4 separate regions of the Homo sapiens genome follow, and all the other regions are linked to region 3. The links are contacts of gene promoters, found by promoter capture Hi-C in blood cells and fetal thymus (Javierre and others, 2016). All regions are on one chromosome and are shown on one strand. Each heading gives the region's core, a stretch centred on a gene start or on the middle of the fragment in contact. The rest is flanking DNA. Distances are from core to core; before and after follow the strand shown. Region 1 overlaps TSGA10 (testis specific 10). Region 2 overlaps CRACDL (CRACD like). Region 3 holds the start of ACTR1B (actin related protein 1B). Region 4 holds the start of MITD1 (microtubule interacting and trafficking domain containing 1).

Region 1 (6,144 bases), core at 72-2,571, 1.5 Mb before region 3:
ATTTTCATAACTGATATACAAAACAAGGTTTTTAAACAGGTTGTTTTTTCTCATATTAAATATTGGTGACATAAAATGGTACCATCTGCAAGACAAACTATTAACACTTGGAAAGAACACTTTTCTAACTCTAAAATGGATTCTATGTGGGGGGAAAAAGCAGTTTTAAAGGCACGATTTAAAATGTGAAATCCTTCTGAAGATATGCAATTTATTGGTCTTTTGCAGTTTATTGGCAGTGATCTTTTACAGAACAAAAATGCAAAATGTAAGAAAGTAAAGTATCATAAAGCAGAATCCCAAAATGGAAATGTAACATACAAAACTGATACACCAGAAATATTGTGAAATACGGATGTCACATTGCTTGGACTTTTTTTTTTTTTTTTTTTTTTTTGAGACGGAGTTTTGCTCTTGTTGCCCAGGCTGGAGTACAATGGCATGACCTCAGCTCAGTGCAGCCTCCGCCTCCAGGGTTCAAGCGATTCTCCTTCCTCAGCCTCCCAGGTAGCTGGGATCACAGGTGCCCACCACCATGCCTGGCTAACTTTTTGCATTTTTAGTAGAGATGGGGTCTCACCATATTGGCCAGGCTGGTTGCGAACTCCTGACCTCAGGTGATTGACCCGCCTTGGCCTCCCAAAGTGCTGGGATTACAGGTGTGAGCCACTGCGCCCGGCTGCTTGGACACTTTTTTTAACCACTTGTTAAAGAAATACATTAAAATGAAAATGTTTTGATGCCATTCAAATACTGTTACTTAAAAACTCTGGTTTTTAAGAAGGATATAATATAATACCAGAGAAATCTGCTTTGAATCTTGGAAGGCTTTTTCACCCTAAAGCAACTGCCTTTTGAATAAGCATCATAAAAAAATGCAGTGTAAGATGATTCACAAATAGTGCAAAATAAGGCAATAGTCTTCCATCATTTTGTCAGGGTTTCCTAATAAGGTTAAGTTCTCTTTCAACACCCCCCTTAGTCAAAGGCAGTTTTTGGTTTCTTTGGTAATACGTACAAATTGCTTCATTCCACATCTGTCATTTCTAGTCCATCACTTTCTTTGACATATACCACTGAACCCAAGGCTTTCCCAGAAAGAGATCCTGTGCCAGTCCCTTCAATCCTTGTAAAGTTTTCTTGATTTGTGTCTTCTAATCTTATTTTCTTGGTGTTTTGAAATAACTGAGTCGCTGGTTCCAACCTGCTTTTTTCAGTCCCTCGTATTAAGTGATCATCCACTTTTGAATCCATATGTATAGCAGATACCTGAGTAGCAGATTTACTAAGTGAAAATCCCATTAGGATAGCTGAACAAATGTGAAAGTAATTTGCAGGTACCTTTTTAAGTAGTGGAAGTGTTTCTTCAACTTGATTACTGAAAAAAAAAAAAAAAGTAACAAGTGAATGCAGCAGGAATTTCCCTAACTTCATGGCAATGTTTGTTTGAATGAAAAGCTGTGGTGATACTAGAAATATAAAGTAAAATTGCCTCCTACCTTTCAGTGTTTACATTTTCTTTGTGGGAGGGTTTGCAGGTTCTAAAGATTTATTTGAAAGTCTTTTTAAAAGGAAATTTATCTGATTGTATGTTTTATCACCTTTCAGAAAATAGTAGAGCTTCTCTTAGTCCTTTCTTTCATTCTTGCTAGCGAAACCTCTTTATTCATTACTAATGGGCTAAAGAAATAACGACTGAAGGCCAAGTACTCTGCTAGTACTTTATTTTCTGTAAAAAATAAAGATGTCCTATAAAGATACTTGTGATTGGCTGGGTGCGGTGGCCCACGCCTGTAATCCCAGCACTTTGGGGGCCGAGGCGGGTGGATCACCAAAGGTTAGGATTGAGAGACCAGCCTGGCCAACATGGTGAAACCCCATCTCTGCTAAAAATACAAAAATTAGCTGGGTGTGGTGGCATGCACCTGAAATCCCAGCTATTCAGGAGGCTGAGGCAAGAGAATAGCTTGAACCTGGAAGACGGAGGTTGCAGTGAGCCAATATTGCACCACTGCACTCCAGCCTGGGCGACAAGAGCGAGACTCTGTCTTAAAAAAAAAAAAAAAAAAAAAAAAGATACTTGTGATTAAGGATGTCTAGTCTGTAAAAAGAGATGATCGGCCGAGCGCAGTGGCTCACACCTGTAATCCCAGCACTTTGGGAGGCTGAGGTGGGTGGATCACGAGGTCAGGAGATCGAGACCATCCTGGCTAATATGGTGAAACCCCATCTGTATTAAAAATACCAAGAATTAGCCGGGCGTGGTGGCGGGCACCTGTAGTCCCAGCTACTCGGGAGGCTGAGGCAGAAGAATGGTGTGAACCCGGGAGGCTGAGGTTGCAGTGAGCCGAGATCGCGCCACTGCACTCCAGCCTGGGCGACAGAGCGAGACTCCGTCTTAAAAAAAAAAAAAAAAAAGATGATCATGTAGCATGGAGGGAGGCCTTGGGAAGTTTCCCAAAGGAGGGGAGCCTAGGTTAGGGTTTCGCTTTCAAAGATGGGCAGGAATTTGGTAGGCAGAGTTGACCAGGATGGCAGAAGGGACAGGCTTCCTGTACAGAAAAGGTTTGAGAAAGCCCAGGGCTTACTGGAGAAGAGTGATCTACCCAAGATGCTATAGTAGCAACCTGAGATCTGGAGCAGATTCCACAGCTTCGATCGAAATCCCTCACCCATTTTTTTTTTTTTTTTGAGATGGAGTTTCACCCTTTCACCCAGGCTGGAGTGAAGTGGTGCGATCTCGGCTCACTGGACCTCCACCCGGCAGGTTAAAGTGATTTTCCTGCCTCAGCCTCCTGAGTAGCTGGGATTACAGGTGCCCGCCACCAGGCCCAGCTAATGTTTGTATTTTTATTTTTATTTTTATTTATTTTTTTTCCAGTCTATATTTTATTTATTGTGGTAAAATATATATAACATTTACCATTTTAAACACTTTTAAGTGTACAATTCAATGACATTGAGTACATTTACATTTTTGTGCAAACATCATGGTCATCCATCTCCAGAACTTTTAATCATCCCAAACAGAAACTCTAACGTTTGTATTTTTAGTAGAGACGGGGTTTCCCCATGTTGACCAGGCTGGTCTTGAACCCCTGACCTCAGGTGATCCACCCACCTCAGCTCCCAAAGTGCTAGGATTACAAGCATGAGCCACTGCGCTCAGCCTCACCCACTTTTTAGAATGTATTATGTCTTTAATATTTACCTACTGTGGTATCTTTGATAGTTTACAATTTCATACTCATCAAGCTGTAATTACTGACTGAACATTTCTAAAGAATCATCTTGAAACCCTGTTTATCCATATTTGTGACTGAATATCAGTGTTTATAACAAAACAGAGTCCTGGGTCTACTGTAGTAGCCTAAATATAGTACTTACTCAAATATTAATATAACAATTAGGTAAATAGTATATATTTGGCTTTCTGGGACTCAAATACAACTTAGCTAAATTTTTTAATATCTCTGATGAAATTCTGAAATATGGGTATATTTGATTTTTAGATTTGGAACTTGAAGATGAATTTTTCTTCCTCATCAAAGGAATATCTAATACTGCCTTCAAATGAATAAAATTGAGTTTATTCTATTTGGTTTCTCTTTTTCTTAGAAAGGAAATACTCCTGTCAAATGCATAACTTGAATCTAAACATGAGGAAACAATCAGATAAACCCAAACAGAAGTATCTTCTATGAAACAAATAGCTTCTACCTAAAAATGTCAATGTTATGAAAGACACAGAGAGGCTGAGGAACTGTTTCAGATTAAAGGAGGCTAAAGATACATTATTTCAGATGCAACCAATGCTCTTGAATTGGGAAGGGGATGGAATGTACTACAAAGATCATTACTTAGATAACTGAAACATTTGGATATGGGACAATATTAGATAATAATATTGGATCAATGTGATAAATGCCATGAATATGATAATTGTATTGTGGTTATATAAGTCAATGTCCTTGTTCTTAGGAAATACATACTGAAATAGTTAGGGGTGAAGAATTGTATCTGCAACTTGCCCTCAAATTGTTTAGCAATAGATAGATAGATACATAGATACAGAAAGACAGTAAAATATGCAAAATGCTAACAACTGTTAAATCTAGGAGGTAAAGCTTAAAAAGTTGTTCTACATATTATTATTATTACATTTCTGTAGGTTTAAAACTTTTTCAAAATACAAAATTGAAAAAACGTTTTAAAAAACACAAAACTCTAAAACATGGCATTTGAAATCAACAAACGTAAAAGAATGGTAACATATAATTATCAATTTGCACATTAAACTTCAATCTAATAAAAGGACTGAGGAGGAACCAAGTATAATAGGGTAGACTTGGCCCTGTGAGTCTTACCTTAACTTCCCCAGAGTTGAGGACATGAAGGGTGAACAAGTCTATTGGGGGCCTCTTTGGACTGGCATTTAGGTTGCCATTCAAGAAGAAATCTGGAATATATATGTAAGAATAAAGGTACATAAAGAGATAAATCAATCTGGAGAAAAAGAACAAAGTGGCTTTCTTTACTAGATATTAAGATAGGCTACGCGGCTGGGCACAATGGCTCACGCCTGTAATTCCAGCACTTTGGGAGGCCAAGGTGGAAAGATCTCTTGAGTCCAGCAGTTTGAGACCAGCCTGGGCAACATAGGGAGACCTCATCCCTATCAGAAAAAAATTAAAAAAAACAAAAAGATATGCCACAAAGTGAAAGTAATAAAAATAACCTTGTACAGGTACAGGAACAAATAATCAGTAGAATATGACAGAGCTGTAACTTGGACTTAGGTATTTCAGGAACTTCACATATATCACAGGTGGCACTATAAGACAAAGGAGATAGAACAGACTAAGTTTAGTATGATGGTATCGTGAACATTGGCTAACTATGTGGACATAAGCAGGATCTTAAACACAGAAGTAGGCTGGGCGCGGTGGCTCACGCCTGTAATCCTAGCCCTTTGGGAGGCTGAGGTGGGCGGATCACGAGGTCAGGAGTTCGAGACCAGCCTGATCAACATGGTGAAACTCTGTCTCTACTAAAAATACAAAAATTAGCCAGGTGTGGTGGCGGGTGCCTGTAATTCCAGCTACTCAGGAGGCTGAGGCAGGAGAATCGCTTGAACCCAGGGGGTGGAGGTTGCAGTGAGCTGAGATCATACCATTGCACTCCAGCCTGGGCGACAGAGCAAGACTCCGTCTCAAAAAGAAAAAAAAGTGGAGTGCAAATGCATTAAAGACCTAAATGTGAATGGCAGAACTGTAAATGCAATAGAAGAAAATATCTGTTACCTTGGAGTGAAGAAAGATTTCTTGAACAAGACTAAAAAGCTTAAACAATAAGGGAGGAAAACAGTGAGTTTGATTACTCATAATTGAGAATTTCTATTCAATGAAAAAAATATAAACAAAAAGATAGATAAGAGACTGGAAGGAGATATTTTCTGTGTCCAAAGCTGATGGTATTTAATGGCTGGAATAAAAAGAGAACACCTAGAAATTAGCAAGGAAAAAGAAAACCCAATAGAAAAATGGGCAAAGGATATAAAAACATAATTCACAGATTGAGGAATCCCAAACAGATAATTAACTAGGAATCAGAGAAATTCAAGTTGCAAAGAAATTGCAACCTCCGCCTTTCTGGGTTCACATGATTCTCCTGCTGAGGCCTCCCGAGTAGCTGGGATTACAGGCACCTGCCACCATGCCCGGCTAATTTTTGTATTTTTAGTAGAGACGATGTTTCGCCATGTTGGCCAGGCTGGTCTCGAATTCCTGACCTCAAGTGATCTGCCCTCCTTGGCCTCCTAAAGTGCTTGGATTACAGCATGAGCCACCGTACCTGGCCACATCTGGCTAATTTTTAAAATTCATTTTTTTTGTAGAGACAGGGTGTCACTGTGTTGCCCAGGCTGGTCTCGAATGCCTGTACTCAAGCAATCCTCCCACTTCCCAAAGTGCTGGGATTACTGGCGTAAGCCACCATGCCTGGACTGGTTTGAACCTTTTATAACAAAACCCAGATCACAGCAGTCCTCTGCTCAACACACTCTAGTTGCTTCCCATATCAGAGAAAAAAATTATCTACATATCTGGTCCCCAGCTGTGGTAGGCAGAATAATAGTCTTCAAAG
Region 2 (6,309 bases), core at 2,425-4,924, 1.2 Mb before region 3:
TTTTATCCTATAAGCCATGGTTAGCTATTGGCATGATATGAGCCATCTTTTAGGAAAACCAGTCTGGCTTTACTATGAGGGTACATTCCTGAAGTGTTGACATGGGAGACTGGCTGGGAGGAACACAGAGCCATAGAGTCCCAGCTGTTCAGCTCGGCCACCTGCTTGCCCAGGCTTGAACAAGGTATTGGCCTCTCTGAGTTCCTGGCTCTCAAGTGCAAAAAGGGACTCATCATCCCTTCCTCACTGGGATGAATGGAAGATTAAATGAAATAACAAGTGTGGGAGCACAGAGCATAGCAGACACTGGCTGCTGTTGGTCGCCTTCCCTTGGCGTTACTCTAGTCCACTGGTTTTGAGGCTCTGCCAGAGGAGCTGTAGACATTTACTTTGGAGGCATATCTGCCATTGTCCTGATAAACTTGTGAGCCCAAGTAGACCAGTAGGATACAGACTGAGAAAAGACACCCGTGGGTACATGCCTACTTAAGTGCCAGCTTTATAGTGCTGCTATCACTAAACCATTATAAGCCTTGAAAAAAGTGGGGAGGTGACAGGCTTCCTGGAATTGGCTATAGCGACGATGCTTTTTATCTTTATTTCTCTCAGCGCGCTCAGTCTGAATCCCTGAGCGACCTGACGTGCACCCCAGAGGAGGAGGAAAACGAGGAGAAGCCACTTTTGGAAGTCAGCCCAGAAGAGCGCCCCAGCTCTGGGCAGCAGGACGTGGCGCCAGACAGAGGCCCTGAGCCTGGGCCACCGGCGCCCTTGCCGCCACCCGGAGGGGCCCGTGCCAGACGCGCCCGCCTGCAGCACTCCTCCGCGCTCACGGCCAGCGTGGAGGAGGGGGGCGTCCCCGGGGAGGACCCCTCAAGCCGCCCGGCCACCCCGGAGCTCGCCGAGCCCGAGTCGGCCCCCACTCTCCGCGTGGAGCCCCCGTCCCCGCCGGAGGGCCCCCCGAATCCCGGTCCCGACGGCGGAAAGCAGGATGGGGAGGCGCCCCCCGCAGGCCCGTGTGCCCCGGCCACGGACAAGGCGGAGGAGGTGGTCTGTGCTCCCGAAGACGTCGCGAGCCCGTTTCCCACCGCCATCCCTGAGGGGGACACGACTCCCCCCGAGACTGACCCCGCCGCCACCTCAGAGGCGCCCTCTGCTCGCGACGGGCCAGAACGCAGTGTCCCGAAGGAAGCGGAGCCGACGCCGCCCGTGCTCCCGGATGAGGAGAAGGGGCCCCCAGGGCCGGCGCCTGAGCCCGAGAGAGAAGCGGAGACGGAGCCCGAGAGAGGAGCGGGGACCGAGCCCGAGAGAATTGGGACCGAGCCCTCCACGGCGCCCGCCCCGAGCCCGCCGGCGCCCAAGAGCTGCCTGAAACACCGGCCCGCGGCCGCCAGCGAGGGCCCCGCCGCGTCCCCGCCGCTTGCCGCTGCGGAGTCTCCCCCGGTGGAGCCCGGCCCCGGTTCCCTCGACGCAGAGGCCGCCGCCCCGGAGCGCCCCAAGGCCGAGCGAGCCGAGGCGCCACCGGCGGGCGCCGAGAGGGCGGCGCCAGAGCGGAAGGCGGAGAGGGGCGGTGCCGAGCTGCGAGGCGCGAAGAAGTTCTCGGTGTCCTCGTGCCGAGCGCGGCCTCGTCCGGGCGTCTCCCGCCCGCTGGAACGGGCCAGCGGCCGCCTGCCCCTCGCGAGGAGCGGCCCGGTCTGGAGGAGCGAGGCGGCTCTTGACGACCTCCAGGGTCTCCCCGAGCCCCAGCACGCGAAACCTGGCCCTCGGAAGCTGGCGGAGCGCGGCCCTCAGGACTCGGGGGACAGGGCGGCCAGCCCGGCCGGGCCGCGCAAGAGCCCTCAGGAGGCGGCCGCCGCGCCCGGCACGAGAGAGCCCTGCCCAGCCGCCCAGGAGCCGGCCCCGAGTGAGGACAGAAACCCCTTCCCCGTCAAGCTCCGGTCCACCTCCCTCTCGCTCAAATACAGGGATGGCGCCTCTCAGGAGGTGAAGGGTGTGAAGAGGTACAGTGCCGAGGTCCGGTTAGAAAGGTCGCTGACCGTGCTCCCGAAGGAGGAGAAGTGTCCCCTCGGGACGGCCCCCGCCCTTCGAGGCACCAGGGCCCCCAGCGACCAAGGAAAGGGGAAGGCCCGGCCCCCCGAGCCGCTCAGCTCCAAGCCGCCCCTGCCCCGGAAGCCGCTTCTGCAGAGCTTCACGCTCCCGCACCAGCCCGCGCCCCCCGACGCCGGCCCGGGAGAGCGGGAACCCAGGAAGGAGCCCAGGACGGCGGAGAAAAGGCCGCTGCGCAGGGGAGCTGGTAAGAGCCCGCCGAGGGTGCGGGAAGGGCAGGGCCTGGGGAGATCCACATCCACGGGCACATCTTGCTGGACACTCGCCAAATGCTCCTGGTACAAACTTTGTTGCAGGGGAATTGGAAGGAGTCAGAATTCCCACTAACATCATGTCTGATCTAGAGCAAGCTTGTCCAACTCGCGGCCTGGGCCCGGGGCGGCTTTGAATGTGGCCCAACATGAATTCGTAAACTTTCTTAAAACATTGAGACTTTTTGCGAATTTTTTTTTAAGCTCATCAGCTGTCCTTAGTTTAGTGTATTTTATGTGTGGCCCAAGGCAATTCTTCCAGTGTGGCCCAGGGAAGCCAAAAGATTGGACACCCCTAATCTAGAGTAAGGAATAGGCCGACCTCGGTAGCTCATGCCTGTAATCCCAGCACTTTGGGAGGCCAAGGCCTGCTGATAAGCCCAGGAGTTCAACACCAACCTGGGCAACATAGTGAGACGTCGTTCTACAAACAATTTTAAAACTGGCCAGGCGTGGTAATGAGGGCCTGTAGTCCCAGCTACTTGCGAGGCTGAAATAGGATTGCTTGAGCCCAGGAGTTCAAGGCTGCAGTGAACTATGATGGTGCCATGCACTCCAGCCTGGGTGACAGAGTGAGACCCTGTCTGTTTTAAAAAGAGAGAGATAAAATAAGGAATAAAGAGTAGAAAAGGGAAAATAAATACCAGGATTTTGCATAAGTACAGAGAAGTCAGTGTGTAAACATGAGATAAAGAGAAACGTAAAAACTGATTTTGATAGGACTCTCAGCGAATCCCTCAAATTCTTCTCCCACTTTTGACCTAAGAAACTCAGCAAAGTCCAAATCCCAGGACATGTGTACTCATTTTGATGCAGGTTCTTTCAGGGCCTAAGCTATTTCTTGGCTATAAATGAAACATACTCCTCTATTAGGGTCCTTCTGACCTTTTCCTCCAAGAAAGAATTTCCTCCTGCTTCATAATCAGGTTCACGTGGCTCAGCTGCAACATGGAAAGTATTCCATATATTGGAATCACAAGTCTGTATAAAACGTAAGTCTCTCAAGAGGGTCAGCATTTACTTGCTGTCCTGAAAGGGAGATTGGGTTAACATTGAGGCAGAACGTAAGAATATTTGAAAGCAGCTGTCTTTTGAAATGAGCAGAGACAAAGTAGATGACCTTTCTCTGTCTTTGACATTTGTCACTTCTTATAGTGTTTCAGATGAAATGAGAAATCTGTTGAAAATGTGTATTTGCAGCAGAGCTAAAGAATCTTTCATTGCTGGGTTTTTTGTTGTTTTTGTTGTTGTTTGTTTTTGAGACTCCGTCTCACTCTGTTGCCCAGGCTGGAATGCAGTGGTACGATCTTGGCTCACTGCAACCTCCACCTGCCGGGTTCAAGTGATTCTCCTGCCTCAGCCTCCCAAGTAGCTGGGATTACAGGCACACACGATACTACACCCGGCTAATTTTTTTATATTTTTGGTAGAGACGAGGTTTCACCATGTTGGCCAGGCTGGTCTCGAGCTCCTGACCTCAAGTGATCTGCCCGCCTCAGCCTCCCAAAGTGCTGGGATTACAGACATGAGCCACCATGCCTGACCTGCTGGTTTTTTAAATTAATGGAAATCTGTGAACCAGAAAATGAAACTACACAAATAAGTTGTGTGTGCATGTGATGGGGGCCCTAGGGAGAAGTTTTCCATGACAAATTTTGTTTTTTAAAAATGTTTTGGCCCGGCGTGGTGGCTCACACTTGTAATCCCAGCACTTTGGGACGCCGAGGCAGGCGGATCACAAGGTCAGGAGTTCAAGACCAGCCTGGCCAACGTGGTGAAACCCCATCTCTACTAAAAATACAAAAATTAGCCAGGCATGGTGGCGCGCACCTCTAATCCCAGCTACTCAGGAGGCTGAGCCAGGAGAATCGCTTGAACCCAGGAGGCGGAGGTTGCAGTGAGCCGAGATCACGCCACTGCACTCCAGCCTGGGTGACAGAGCGAGACTCCATCTCAAAAAAAAAAAAAAAAAAAAAAGAATGTTTCAGGCTACTCAAGCAGTGTATTGTGGGACAGAGAGGAAATAGAACCCAGTAGCTTTCTTAGGGAATCCTGCACCCTAAGAGGAAGATGCATACATAGGAAGAAAATTAGCTCATACAAAACAATGTGAAAACAGTTCCAAAATAGTCTAATCTTTTCTGGCTCTTTTACAGTGCTTTAAATTCCTAACGTGACACACAAGGATTCACAGTTCCAAAGAGCCCACACATGTGGCCTTCCCAATCTGAAGGCCCCTTGGCACAGCCGTGATTTTGTGTTGCTGCTGCCACTGCAGTAGGATAATCAGTGCGGAATCTGGAGGAAGTTCAAACCATCACTGACGATCCACTCTGCAGATTTCCATTGAGGTTATTGAAGCTATTGTAGAGTGATTCAAAAAGCCATTGAAGTAGCAAGGGAGGAAGGAGTTGCTCTCTGTGCACATGAAACCCTGACCTTCATGGCCTAGAATTGAAAATGTCTCTCAAGAGCTTGCTAAATGAATGGAACTTAAAAACAGAATATCAAGCTCGTAGTCAGATCTGAAAAAGAAGCTTCAGAGGGCAATGCTTTGCCCATTATTTATATGTAAGTTTCTCAACCTAAGCCAGGCTTTCTTCACTATAAAATGCCTGGGATAATCTGTAAATACTTTGTGTATTTTTCTTTGATTTATAAAATGTAATAGAGTATTTTTTTTATTAACAGCTTTGCTTATATAGTAGAAGAGAATTGTCTCATCCATCTAAGTTTAATCACATTCACTAAAGCCATAGAAATGTCAGAGTTAGATGAATTTCAAAACGAAAGAAGAATCTAGGTTACTTTATGGGTATGGTTAATGATATTCATTTTAACACAGAGAGAGGGAAGGAATTACCCACATTCTATAGGGAAGCAACTCTGGGGGCAGGGGCAGTGGTATTGGAAGGACAGGTACCAGGACAGGCTGGGCCTGCTGCCTGATCCTACCTGGACCTTGAGGGGCTATCTCATGCTGACCAGAGCAGAATCTCAGGGTCTGCGCTGTCAGACCCCAGCAGTGAAGCTGCCCCCACACTTTCCCTAGATGCCAAATCTGTTTGTGCTTTCATTGATTATTATCACTTCTACTATTATCATTCTCATTGCTCCCAAATTACATTAGCTAGAAGCAATTCAGTTCACATAAAACATACAGATAATGAAAGTTTTAATAACAATATCACTCTGTTTCCAGAAAGACCTAATATTTGCTGTTGTGGTGGCAAATACCTTGCCCAGAGCTCCCAGATAGTCTGCCACCTCCCCCGTCCTCCCTCCAGGGCATGTACAGTAAAGTTGGATGATTGAAGTGTTCCAGATGACTCGGCTTTGGGCACTCAAACTGCTTTGTCCCCAGCACCTGGTTTATTCCTCCTCCTCTCTTCCACACCTTGTTTTCCTTCTTTGAAGGAATGGAGGGACGCTTCAGCAGAAGGAGTAGGAAAGGATGCAATGGTGGTTGGTTGTAATAAACAGGAGCCTGGGTTGCCAAAGGGGCTGAGCCTCACAGGGGCTGTGCTGGAGTGGTTACTGCAAGCTTAGTATGTGTCTGTGCTCCTCGAGGCAGAGGAGCCCTGTTTATAAGCCTGGTTCATAATTTGCTGATCTGTCGTAGGAAGTAAATGGCCCAGGGTTATCAGCCTTGTTCATTTGTGCAGAACATTATGCATCCTCCTGTTGGTTCAATCCATCCCAGAGTCTAAATTACAGGTCATAAAGCAGCTTCTGCACGCAGGATTAGAATGAGAACAAAGGAGTTAGAGAATATTGTGTGGAAAAATTGCAAAACACAGAAAGTATGTAGAAAAAAAAATCACTCCTAGGTCAGCTCTCCTTCTAGTCTGTCTTGTTTCTGGGTATGAGATTTATTTTTTTTACAAAGTCATGGTCACATGTTGGTGTTTTGGAAGGTAGTGCAAGAAACCACCCTTCTCACCTGGGGACCTCA
Region 3 (6,498 bases), core at 2,138-4,637:
CTTAGCTGGGCATGGTGGCGGGAACCTGTGATCCCAGCTACTAGGGAGGCTGAGCCAGGAGAATTGCCTGAACCCGACAGGTGGAGGTTGCAGTGAGCCCAGATTGCGCCACTGCACTCCAGCCTGGGCAACAGAGAAAGATTGTCTCAAAAAAAAAAAAAATAAAAAAGAGACCTGAAGGTGCCTCATATACTGTTCAGAGACATTCATGCATATAACAGTCTACACTCGGTGTCTGCTTTCTCTTTGCTTTTACTTAGCAATGTGTCCTGATATGTTTCATATGAAATTATATAGCACTCTCTCATTATTTTTAATGGCTACACAGTGATCTATTTTATGAATGTATAAACACTAGATGCAAATGAATACATACCAATGACTTCATCTGCACAAAGTCCAGAAACAGGCAATACTAATATGTTTTCAAAATTCAGGATAGAGGTCACCTCGGAGGAGGAACAGGTCAGAGACCAAGGGGTAGGAGCTGACGGGGGGGCTGTTCATGCTATTAGGAAAACAGGAGCCTAGGAGAGACAGGGTGACACCATTTTAAAATCAACTGCTTTTTTTTTTTTTTTTTTTTTTGAGACAGAGTCTGGCTCTGTCACCCAGGCTGGAGTGCAATGGTGCGATCTGGGCTCACCGCAACCTCCATCTCCCGGGCTCAAGCCAACCTCCCACCTCAGCCTCTGGAGTAGCTGGCACTACAGGCGCACAACATCATGCCCGGCTAATTTTTGTATTTTTTGTAGAGACAGGGTTTTGCCATGTTGTCCAGGCTGGTCTCAAATTCCTGGGCTCAAGCAATCCACCCACTTCAGCCTCCACAAGTACTGGGATTACACGCATGAGCTACCGTGCCCATCTCAACCCCATCTTTTTTTTTTTTTTTTTTTTTGAGACGGAGTCTCACTCTGTCGCCCAGGCTGGTGGCGCGATCTCGGCTCACTGCAACCTCCGCCTCCTGGGTTCAAGCGATTCTCCTACCCCAGCCTCCTGAGTAGCTGGGACAACAGACGCATGCCACCACGCCCAGCTACTTTTTTGTATTTTTAGTAAAGACAGGGTTTCACCGTGTTAGCCAGGATGGTCTCAATCTCCTGACCTCGTGATCTGCCCGCCTCGGCCTTCCAAAGTGCTGGGATTACAGGCATAAGCCACCGCGCCCGGCCCCAACTCCATCTTAAAACTAGCAAGGCACATTCCTTGCTAGTCCCAACCCATGGTCATAAGATGCTATGGCTAAAAGAGCAGTTTAGTAATGCCTGCAAGGACAAAATCCTACAACAACAAAATGTCCAGATGCTCCAATATTGCCTAACAATATATGATTTAAGATAGTTATAGTTACAGGACTCGATGGCTCACACCTGTAATCCCAGCACTTTGGGAGTCCAAAGTGGGTGGACTGCTTGAGCTCAGGAGTTCGAGACCAGCCTGGGCAACATAGCAAAACCCGGTCTCTACTAAAAATACAAAAAAATTACCTGGGCGTGATGGTGCACACCTGTGGTCCCAGCTACTTGGAAGGCTGAGGCAGGAGGATAGCTTGAGCCTGGGAGGTGGAGGTTGCAGTGAGCTGATATCAGGCAACTGCACTCCAGCTTGGGCAACAAGGTGAGACCCTGTCTCAAAAAAACAAAACAAAACAAAATATATATATATATATATATATATATATATATATATAGAGAGAGAGAGAGAGAGAGAGAGAGAGAGAGAGAGAGAGAGAGAGTCATGCTTTGATGTATTTATGCATTAAAATGCCAAGGATAACTTTCTTTAAATCAAAAAGCACTAAATTTTGTTATGCTGTCAGCCCACCCTCATGTAGACATAGCTTAGTTTTTACATAGATAAGACCCCTCTATAAGAAGAGTTTAATATAAAGAGGGTGTGTTCCCCCTCTTGCTTTCTGAGGATGGCCTACTCTGTAACTGAGTAGCTTTCAATAAACAATCGCTTCTCACTGCACTCTGCAACTTGCCTTGAATTTCTTCTGGGCAAGATCCAATAACCCTCCCTTGGGGTCTGGATCGGGACCCCTTTTCCAGCAACAATATTGTTTCTTGAACTCGGTGGTTATGCAAGTGTGTCCACATTTTAATCATTCATTGAAATGTACATGTACACTTGTGATTTCTGCACACCCGCTTCAATTTTACAAATTTTATGCTCACAACCCATTGGGAGAGGTATATATACAGGGAAATAACTATGGATCCGTTTGGTAAACAAATGTAGAACTCAACTATCCTGCACTCTTGAAGCAGCTGACTCCAGTGCCGCAGGGGGCTACCTGCATGCCAATTCCACACCCAATAATCTTGGGCAGGTTACCAAAGTGTGAAGACCCTGACTGAAAAATGGGAGTAATAATACAACTACCTGATATTGTTGCAAGGATTTAATATAACTTATGTAAAGTGGGCAGAAGTGCTCCGCAGGCACAGAGCAGGTGCTCAATAAATGCCAGGACCAAAATACCACGAAACTGTAATTTTTATAAGGAAAAGGATCTTTTCTTCAGTGCTCAACGAGGAAATATTATGGGGCCGTGCGCAATAGCTGACGCCTGTAATCCCAACGCTTTGGAAAGACTAAGCGGGAGGATCGCTTAAGCTCAGGAGTTCGAGGCTAGCCCGGGGAACATAGCGAGATCCCTTCTCTACAAAAAAAATTTTTTTTAATTAGCTAGCGTTGCGCGGTGGCCGTATGGTGGCCAATGAGGTTTATCCGAAGCGCGATTATTGCTAATTGAAAACTTTTCGCAATACCCCACCGTGACGACTTGCAATATAGTCGACATCGGCAATTTTTAACAGTCTCTACGGAGACTATTTCAGTAAAAATAAATAAATATGGTGCGCGCCTGTAGTCCCCCCTACTGGCTGGCGCGGGAGGATCGCTTGAGCCCAAGATTTCCAGCCTGAGCGACAGAGCAAGACACCTTACCTAGAAAAAAAGAAAAAATAAATATTTTGGGTGAAATATCCAGGGCCGGCCTCCTTGGAGAGGGCGCTCTCACGAAGGAGCGTGGCCCGAGGTGCTGGGACGCGGGAAAGACGTCTTTCTGGACCGGTGCTGGGACGCGGGAAAGACGTCTTCCTGGACCGGTGAATTTCCAGCTCCACAGACTCCGGCCGCGCGCACACCAGCCCAGCTCCACTTTCTGCCGCCCGCGTCCCCTTTAAGACGGAGCCATGACATCATCCCAGACACTGCGCAGCCTACCTTGGCAACGCCGCGACCACTTTTTTCCGGACGACCTCAATTGGCTGGCCAGCCTCCGGAGGCCCCGCCCCCTTCGCGCAGCCAGCCCCGGGCACCTGCTGTCAATCGGGCCAGGTGGGAGCGATGATTGGCCGCCGGGCCCGCCCTCCAGAAAGCCCCGCGGGGCTCGCGTAGGCTGCAGGCTCGGGGAGGGAGGGCAGCGGCGCCGCGTCGGGAGCCGCCGCCGTCCCGGTCCTCCCGCCCGCCCGCCCATCCGGTGCCTCCTGCAGCCCGCCTGCTGGGCAGGGCCGGCGCGGCCCGGCCATGGAGTCCTACGACATCATCGCCAACCAGCCTGTGGTCATCGACAACGTGAGGCCCGGCAGCCAGGGGGAGGGCGGGCGCCCCGCCCCCGGGGGCGCACGCGGCGGCGCAGGGAGAGACCCCCGCCCGCCTCGGCGCGTCCTCCGCTCACTGCGTGGCCGTCGCCCCCGCCGGGCCGCTGGCTTCGCCCCGGGGGCGCGCGCCCTCTTGGCCTTGTAAGGCCGGCCATGGGGCGAGCCCCCTCGCCCGCGTCGCAGAGCCTCTTCCCCGACCCCTCCCCGAGTCGGGCGGGGAAGTTCAGGAGAGCTTGAGTGACAGCCGGGCGGCCGGGCGGGGACGCGCCCCGGACTCTTCTCAGTTGAGAGTGCGGTTCCTGGGCAGGTTTCCACACCAGTTCCTTTCCGCGTCCTTCGGCCCTGGCTCTGGCTGCCTGGCGGAGGTGGGGTAGCATTTGTCATTTGCACACTGCTGGCTTTATCTTTGGGGCTGCACCCCGAGGCAACAAATGCAGGATGCTCTGTCACCCACATGTCCACCACCATCTGGTTTGCCTTTTGGCTACTTTGACTTTCTCCTTAAATGCTTCCTGTGCTGAGCAAACATTCCACAGCCAGCAGAGCAATGGAGAGTTCATGGCCACTCTTCCCAGTATCAGCAAGCAATTTGGGGTGATCGTTTGGAAGCCTCAGAGGAAAGATGTCATCAGGCTTCCTGTGGCTTTGTCCTTCAGCAGTGGGGCTCGGCTTGCTTTCACCTGCCTTAGGAAGATTTCTGGCTTCCGAGCTCTGATATGGGGAGAAGATAAGGGCTGGGATCTTTGAGTCTGCCCCTAGCTGGGTATGTGCGTCCGGTGTGCGGGCCTTGGAGTTTTTGGTAATGACTCACTTGTGCTCTTTCTGGGATCTGTCTCCCTCCCACATGACCCCGTGGGGTCCCTGAATGACTGTTTTAGAGTACCCATGTGGGTTCCCTGAGTCACAGCAGGGGATGTTTAATAAGGAGGTTAGCACTGAGCTTGGGGACGTGCTGTCACACCAGCAGGACGCTGCAGGAAGGAGCAGGCTACTTCCTTTCTTGACGTGCAAATAACTCGTATAGGCTAATCAACAGGCTTATAAGTTAAAAGGGCTACCGCTCGGCCCCTTGGGGATTCCATCCCCTCCTCTGTAACTTGGAGATGTTTGTTTCTGCTGCAGACTCAGAGGGTTGCGATGAAGAGTGGTGGGACTGAGTTGAGAAGCTTATCCCTTCGCTGGGTGGGAGGTTTCTAATTGCCCCGTTCTTTGGGGGATCCTTAAGTCCAGCTTCCAGGTGGGGGCAGCGATAGGACCAAGTTCTCCTAGTAGTCTCTGGGAAGCCACTTGAGGGAAGCTGCCGGTCATCCCATGCACCCATTGGTCTTCTCCAGCAGGCCCTGTAGGTCGTCCATGTTCCATGCCTTCTGGGTTCTTGGGGGAGAAGGAAGCTGTTGAAAAAAAAAAAAAAAGACCCACACAGAGGGGTTTCTTCTAGCTTTTGGGAGTAGCATGTGCTATGGAATCCTGCTGGAGCCAACCATTAGTTGTGCAGAGGAAGGTGCCCTTCGTGGTTTCTCTATCTCTATATTATTGACATTCTGGGCTAGCTCCTTGTTGGTAGTGCAGGCTCGCCTGTGCATCGTAGGATGTTGAGCAGCATCCTTGGCCTCTGCCCACTAGATGCCAATAGCATCCCCCACTGCATGTCCCCTCTCCCCAGCTGCCAGACATTGCCAAATGTTGCCAGAGCAGGGGGATACAAAATTGCCCCCAATCTTGAACCATAGGTGTACTTGTAAATGATCCTGGCAGGGTCCCTGGCTTCCTCCTTGGCCTGCCTTGACGGGGCAGCCAGCTCTCTCCATTGCGGGGGACTGGCTTCATCTGGTGGTGCATGTGGGCAGCTCAACTTTGTTTTTCCTTGCAGGGTTCGGGGGTGATTAAAGCTGGCTTTGCAGGAGACCAGATTCCCAAATACTGTTTCCCAAACTAGTAAGTGTGGCTCAGGCAGCAGCCTTAGTCCTTTTGTTTACCTTCTGTAAGAACATTGGCCTTCTGTCACAGGGCTCTTTGAAGACAATTTGTGCCCTGACCTGTATGGAAAACACCAAATTTGTGAGGTTGACACTCTTGAGAGAGCACTGAAAGAACAAGACAAGCGTTCTAGGGTTCCCCTTTGTCTTGGGAGTCTCTCGTTTTGGTCTTGTTGAGCCAGCAAGGAGGAAAAGCAACCAGCATTTCCCTGGGGATGGGGTGTGGTAGCAGCAGCAAGAATAAAGGGAGACATCTCCGAGGGGAGCCCTAAACTCGGAGCAGGAAGAGTGAGGAATTAGATGCACAGCCACCCTTTCCTCCCTGGAAGTGTTTTCTGCCGGGCTTGTTTTCAGACTCTAGAAAATGTCTTGTTTCAGTTAAGAGGGGATCCTTTGCCCTGTATGGTACTGGTGGGGGCGGGAATAAGAATTGCAAACCCAGAGAGCCTGGGGTGCCCCTTGCACCCACCACGAGCCCATTGGGAAAGTTGCCCTTAGGGGCACCTCTTCACAAATCCTGGAGGCTTTGGAATGAGTGGCCTAAAGGCAGCGGGCAGCAGGGGATCCTAGGCCCCGAGTGGCAGGCTAGCCCGAGCCCGGCCTGGTCTGGGACAGAGCTAGCATGGTGCGCCCTGTCGAGCTTCAGCATTCCTTTCTGACTGCATGGGTATAATTAGAGGTTCCTTTGCCTTTAGTGGTAGCTCATCAGATCCTATAGTTTCCAAGAACTGAATCTCTGATCCAGAAGCGCTGGCAGTGGGGTAGGGCGCTTGACTGAGTGAGAGCAGGGTGCACAAGGGAGCCCCGACCCAGCTTCCTGGGGTTGTCCTCCCTCAGTCTGTGGATGGTGACGGCAGCCCTGCCCCACCGAAGTCAGGAGCGTGGGCTGAGTCACTGTGGCTGCAGGA
Region 4 (6,225 bases), core at 3,005-5,504, 1.5 Mb before region 3:
GTTACATATAAGCAAGAGGGGAAGGCTACAATGATCCTTATATACTAGATTGGAAATGGAACTCATGTTTAGCTTAATATAGCTATTGAGGGATATAGAAGTAATTACAGATATGCATATATACATGGGCTAGCTCTGTTAGCTGAGAGGACTTAAAGCACTAGCACTCAGTGGCAAGGAGCACACCCAGTGCCCAGATCTTGGCTGCATTCTTTAATAAAAGGAACCAGTGCTCCTTTGAGAAATGGCTGATTATGTCTGGAGCACTTTGTAATGCTAGAAAGGAACTACTGGAAAAAACATAACGATGGGGTATGTCAAAGTGACACTGCAGTCAACTGTACCCAAAGCTGGAACAATTTCAGCAACAAAATAAGTAACAAAGTATTACTGGCTTATAATCCAAACCAAAATAAATAAATAAATAACCCTAAATTCATACTAATATAAATAGGTGAATAAGTTAATGAGAAAGAACAAATATCCCATTCAGAAGAATTCCAAATAATTTATGTAGGTACTCTCTTCCAGTATCTTCCCAAACACCTAACTGCCTCAAAACTGTCAATGATATCAAAAACAAGGAAAGTCTGAGAAACTGTCACAGTTAAGAGGAGCCTAAGGAAGAAGTCATGACCATTAAATGTAATGTGGTATCCTGGATGGGATCCTGGAATAGCAAAAGGACATTTGGCAAAAACTAAGTAAATCTAAATAAAGTATGGACTTTAATAACGTATCAATATTGGTTCATCAACTGTACACAGGTATACCAAACATGAAAGGGGGAAACAGTGTAGCATATACAGAAACTCCATACCATCTTCACAACTTCTTTGAAAATCTAAAACTATTCAAAAATAAAGTTTATTTATGAAAAAATTAAAACCTCCAATGCTTGTCCATTTTGATCACAGTGAAAATCAATTTTTTTTTTTTTTTTGAGACAGAGTCTCGCTTTGTCACCCAGGCTGGAGTGCAGTGGCCCAATCTTGGCTCACTGCAACCTCCGCCTCCTGGGTTCAACCGATTATCCTGCCTCAGCCTGCTGAGTAGCTGGGATCAGAGGCACCTGCCACCACGTCCAGCTAATTTTTGTATTTTTAGTGGAGACGGGGTTTCACCATGTTGGCTAGGCTGCTCTTGAACTCCTGACCTCAGGTGATCCGCCCGCCTGGGCTCCCAAAGTGCTGGGGTTACAAGCATGGGCCACCACCCCCAACTCTAATTCTTAACCCTCACCCTCTCATGTCTTTGTAGTACAGCACTACCAACCTTCCCCACCTCCAGGACTCCATCTCCAATTACTCTCTTGCTCAATCACCAGACATGCTGCCCCCCTTGTTTGATCTAGAACTAGTCAAGCAGGCATGCTCCCTTTGACTGACCATTCCCTCTCCTGGAATGATCCTGATATTTACATGGCTAATTTCCTTATCTTTTTCAATTTTTGGGTCAAATCTCACCTTTTCAATGAGGTCAACCCAGATCACATCATTTAACATTTTCACCCATACCCCAACTGTCAACACTCCCAATTCCTCTTCACTGCTTTCTATCGTGCTTATCTTCTAACGTAACTTAATTATCTGTTAGGTTTTGTTGTTTAGTGCATGTACATTCAATAGCACGCTAATTCCATAGGAAAAGGGTTTTTAGATTTTGTTGTTTTGGGTCTGTTATATTCATAGAAGTATCCCAAACATCTGTGTAAAGCGGTATCTGCCCTATAGCAGACATATAATATATTTTTGCAGAATAACTGAAGTTTAAATATTTACAGACTTCTGAAGGTGTGATAGTCAAAAGTTACAAGTTTTTAGAGACAGAGTCTCGCTATGTTTCTGGTATTGAACTCAGCCTCAAGCAATCCTCAATTTTCCCAGTAATTGGAGCTAGGTGTGTGTCACCACGTTTGACTCAAAGAATACGTTTATTTTATCTTATTTATTTTTTTGAGACGGAGTCTCGCTCTGTCGCCCAGGCTGGAGTGCAGTGGCACGATCTGGGTTCACTGCAAGCTCCGCCTCCCGGGTTCACGCCATTCTCCTGCCTCGGCCTCCCCAGTAGCTGGGACTACAGGCGCCCGCCCGGACGCCCGGCTAATTTTTTGTATTTTTAGTAGAGACGGGGTTTCACCGTGTTAGCCAGGATGGTCTCGATCTCCTGACCTCGTGATCCTCCCGCCTCGGCCTCCGAAAGTGCTGAGATTACAGGCGTGAGCCACCACGCCCGGCAAGGAATACGTTTTAATAAAGTAAAAGTTACTGTTAATAATTAGGCACGTAACTCCTGGACCCTGAAACAATTACGCTGTCTTCTGTAAAACAGGAAAATATCAGGCATCACAGGAGAAGTATGATCCCATTTCTATTTTTTTAAATGTCTGTGAACGTGTGTAATCACAGAAAAACTCTGGAAGGTTGTCAGAAAAACGTTAACATACCCCTGGGGGTATGAAAAAAGGCGTTTTTCCTCCCCCTTCTCCCCCCCAGCGACCGATAGTTCTTTTGTCTTTTTACAATGAGCATGCATGCAACAGGAATGTTAAAAATCGATTTCTTTTTCTAAACCGACAATGTATACAATTATTAAAGGGGGAAAAACACTTCTGAAATGCAAAACATGGAATCACTCTTGCAGAGATACCAGAGATCTCTGAAAGCTGGAAGCGTGTCTCTTCTCTGAACTCCTAGTGCCTAACAAGCAGTAGGCAGCCCTCATTACTGCCTCTTGGCAAAAAGGGCAGAACAAACAGCTTTTGGTAGGTCTCGATCAAAATGGTAACAAATCACAGTTTTAATAAAATGGCAAATATTCTAACTGCCAACTCTTGGATGTTTGCATTATAAAATGAAGCAATACAAAGATAAAGGCAATTTTCTGTCTTCATTAAAAAAAAAAAAAAGCAACCTTAATACCCAGTGGCAACCCTAAGTTATGAATAAAGCAGCAGCACAGAAAATGCTGCTTGGGTTCCCTTTCCCAAGCTGTCCAGCCTCGGCGGCTCCGTTCTTGAGCTCCAAGAGTCTGGGCACAAAAAGCCGCGTGGCCCTGGATCCTGCAAATTGGGAAACGGGGGGATCCTGCAGGCCAATGGCCTTACGGGAGCCAATGTGACGGGATCAGGGGCAGACCCATTTAGGTTGCCGTAACCGGCCAATTCAGTACGCAATAGGGAAAATCAATTAGGATCTGCAGAGGGTTCCCGGATACACCTTGCGAAGAATGCCGCACTCTCCGCCACTCATTCCCCACTCACCGGCACCCGCTAAACCTTCAGCCTGAAATTTTCCTCCGAAGGGAAGCAGAGCAGAGGAAGAACTACCAAGTGCTACACTCAAAGCCTGCCGTCGCAGTGAGCGCGACCTCCAAACTGAGGCATTTTTGTTCCGGCGAAATCCCTCCCACTCAGGAAAGTCCCTAGAAAGAGAGCGCAGGCGCCTGGGTATCACATGACCACTTCCCGGAAGCGCAGCAGACCCGCTCAACTTCATCCTGGGTTGAGGCGGAGGAGAACTTCCAGAATTATGGCGAAGTCCGGGCTGAGGCAGGACCCGCAGAGCACAGCTGCAGCCACTGTGCTAAAGCGGGCAGTAGAACTAGATTCGGAGTCGCGGTATCCGCAGGCTCTGGTGTGTTACCAAGAGGGGATTGATCTGCTCCTGCAGGTTCTGAAAGGTGAGCAATGAGCCAAGGCGGGGAGGACCTGAGGAAAAGGAGCTGGTTCCTGCTGTGTCTGGGGTGAAGTGAAAGAGTTAAAAATGATTTTTCCACACCACGAAGAAGCAGTTAAATACAGAAGGTGGGATATTCTATAGGACAACTGGGCCGCTTTCTTTTAGATCTTTAATAGATTGATGTTACCTAGAAAAGGTGGGGAGGCTACTAGTCTAGATTTTAAAAGACTTAAGAGATATAAGATATAACGCAATGTAATATATAAGCTTTGATAGGACCTGGGTTTGTACGAACTTTAAAAGACATTTTTGGATCTATTAGAAAAGTTTGAATATAGATTGGGGGGCATTAAAATTATTTTCTTAGGCAATATGATTTTTTTTCCAAAACTTTCCTTAATTTTTAGAGATGCAGACCAAAGTGTTTTAGAAAGAGATGCTATGATGTCTTTAGTTAATTTTCCTTAAGCAAAAATTTCTTAAAAATCGAAGCTCTATTTGAGCAAAAATGCTAATTTTAAAAATTTCGGTGATGGGTAATAAGGGTGTTTATTATACGATTATTTTTAATTTTCTGTTTAAACATTTGCATTTAAAGCAAGCCAAAGTAAAATTATGTAGCGGTAGAAGAAGAAAAGTTTTTCTTAAACGGATGAGGTTCGGTGTGAGAAATGCGCAGGGTTGTGGAGGAGACAAGTGAGACTTTTCGTATTATTCAATGTTGAGAAATACCCAAATATTCCTTAACACCCAGCACAACCCTGGCTCACAGTAGACACTCAATATTTATGTATTAAATTGATAAGATCAGCTCCTGCTCCCCAACCCCCGACACTCCCGGTCTGGACTAAGCTCCCTCTGTTCTTTCTAGTTTAAGCTTCTTATAATTAAAGTGTTACAGAAGCTTTGGGGCAGCAGAGGGGAGCCCTTTATGGTTTGGTGCTTTGGTCAGAACTACAAACTCTACCGGCCGGGCGCGGTGGCTCACTCCTGTAATCCCAGCACTTTTTTGGGAGGCCGAGGCAGGTGGATCATGAGGTCAAGAGATCGAGACCATCCTGGCCAACATGGTGAAACCCCGTCTCTACTGAAAATACAAAAATTAGCCGGGCATGGTGGCACGCACCTGTAGTCCCAGCCACTTGGGAGGCTGAGGCAGGAGAATTGCTTGAATCCGGGAGGCGGAGGTTGCAGTGAGCCGAGATCGCGCCACTGCACTCCAGTCTGCCAATAGAACAAGACTCCGTCTCAAAAAAAAGAAAAAATAACTGTAAACTCTACCTTGCCTGGGGCATTATTTGATGATAATGATGACAGTGACAACAGCAATAAGCATAGATATCACGTTTCAGTGCTGAGTGCCAGGCATTGCAGAAAACATTAAAAGCATGATCTCGTTTCATCCGTACCAATTGCCCTATCAAGTAGGAGTTGATGGTATTCTCGTTTTACAGCATAAAAAGTATTGTTCGCTTTCAAGTTCTGCCACTAGGAGGTGGTAGAGTCACAGTCGGAGCCCAAGGCCCCAACGACTCTGGTATACTGAATCCCAAAAGAGAGATGGTGTACTGTGTTGGTCAGGTGGAACACTGCTCAAGTTTTGGCTGCACTAGGAATCTGAAGCAGGAGAATCACAGTTCTGCTCTAGGGTGCTTCACTGATCCCGTAGAGGTTACAGAGACAATGATGTCACATAGATGGGTTAAGACCAAAATGCAAATAGCGCTAATACAGGGAATAAGTGCCAGGAGAGAGATATCTATAGATAAACGCAATGAGGATTTAAACAGTTAAAGGTCATGTGAGGGTGGAAAGGTAGAGGTGGAGTTTGATTGGGGCTTTGGAGGAAAAATAATTTCAGAAGTCAGAAATTCATCTAAGAGTCTTCAAATTCCTGTGCTGTCTTACGAAATAAGTAGTTTGGTTGAGCATGTATCTGAAGAGGAAGAGTGAGAAGTAAAGTTTAAAGGTAGATAGGGGCTTGGATCACATTGAGGATGGCCTTGACTACCAGGAGATTTTAACTTATTCCACAGGCAAGGAGAAACCATTTAAGGTTTTTACAAAGGAGTAACATAATTGGAGTTGCATTTCAGGGCTTGTCTCTTTCAGGAATGTGCTCTTTTCTCACAGATATTTATTTGCATGGCACACTCTCTCTCCTATTTCAGGCCTTTACACAAATACCACCTTCTTTGTGAGGCTTTCCCAGACCTCCAGTGTAAAATTATAACCCCATCCCAGCACTCCCTGTCCTCCTTCATTATTTTATTTAATAGCACTTACCTCAATCTAATATACATGTTTTGCCAATTTATTTTTATTGTTCTCTTCCTACTTGAACAATAGAAGAGAATTTTGTCTGTTTTACGAACTGCTGTATCCACAGCACTTAGAACAGTGCTGGGCATGTTGTTAGTTCTCAATAAATATTTCTTGAATAAAGGACTGAATATGGCAAGGATGTAAAGTAGACATTAACCTGTAGAGACTGAAGTTAAGCAGACCAATTAAGGAGCTCCTGCTGGAATCAAAATAAGAGGTG

The links. The method cuts DNA at HindIII sites, captures the fragments that hold promoters and counts their contacts. A CHiCAGO score of 5 or more calls a contact.
Region 1: a contact is called between a fragment that was not itself captured here and the fragment with the promoter of ACTR1B in region 3, in 1 of 17 cell types (fetal thymus). The highest score is 6.0, in fetal thymus.
Region 2: a fragment that was not itself captured here is called in contact with the fragment with the promoter of ACTR1B in region 3 in 1 of 17 cell types (neutrophils); the score reaches 5.0 in neutrophils.
Region 4: a fragment that was not itself captured here is called in contact with the fragment with the promoter of ACTR1B in region 3 in 2 of 17 cell types (fetal thymus and naive CD4 T cells); the score reaches 7.5 in fetal thymus.

Annotation. Positions count from the first base shown.
Region 1 is chr2:99,145,717-99,151,860 of GRCh38, reverse strand. The region is part of intron 1 of TSGA10 (testis specific 10); the gene reads left to right. C2orf15 (chromosome 2 open reading frame 15) reads right to left here. Exons shown (of 4, transcript NM_144706.4): 3 at 4,368-4,459; 4 at 192-1,378. The coding sequence starts at 1,302. The coding sequence ends at 1,027. Among named protein-coding and RNA genes, the nearest start is that of TSGA10, 6.2 kb to the left of the region's middle. The HindIII fragment of the contact is 5,617 bases long and covers 1-4,129 here.
Region 2 is chr2:98,817,838-98,824,146 of GRCh38, reverse strand. It overlaps CRACDL (CRACD like), which reads left to right. Exons shown (of 10, transcript NM_207362.3): 7 at 610-2,290. Among named protein-coding and RNA genes, the nearest start is that of LINC02611, 49 kb to the right of the region's middle. The HindIII fragment of the contact is 2,438 bases long and covers 2,456-4,893 here.
Region 3 is chr2:97,660,933-97,667,430 of GRCh38, reverse strand. It overlaps ACTR1B (actin related protein 1B), which reads left to right and starts at 3,387. Exons shown (of 11, transcript NM_005735.4): 1 at 3,387-3,588; 2 at 5,485-5,549. The coding sequence starts at 3,541. It overlaps LOC124900516 (U4 spliceosomal RNA), which reads left to right and starts at 2,700; the gene lies at 2,700-2,840. It also overlaps a transcript of C2orf92 not described here and the pseudogene RNU4-8P. RefSeq lists enhancers at 2,869-3,208, 4,249-4,318, 4,284-4,925 and silencers at 3,289-3,748, 3,829-3,888. The HindIII fragment of the contact is 7,381 bases long and covers 1-4,782 here.
Region 4 is chr2:99,178,287-99,184,511 of GRCh38, reverse strand. MITD1 (microtubule interacting and trafficking domain containing 1) reads left to right here and starts at 3,454. Exons shown (of 7, transcript NM_138798.3): 1 at 3,454-3,681. The coding sequence starts at 3,531. It overlaps MRPL30 (mitochondrial ribosomal protein L30), which reads right to left and starts at 3,328. Exons shown (of 6, transcript NM_145212.4): 1 at 3,263-3,328. RefSeq lists a silencer at 2,947-3,119 and enhancers at 3,337-3,386, 3,407-3,636, 3,647-3,786. The HindIII fragment of the contact is 610 bases long and covers 3,950-4,559 here.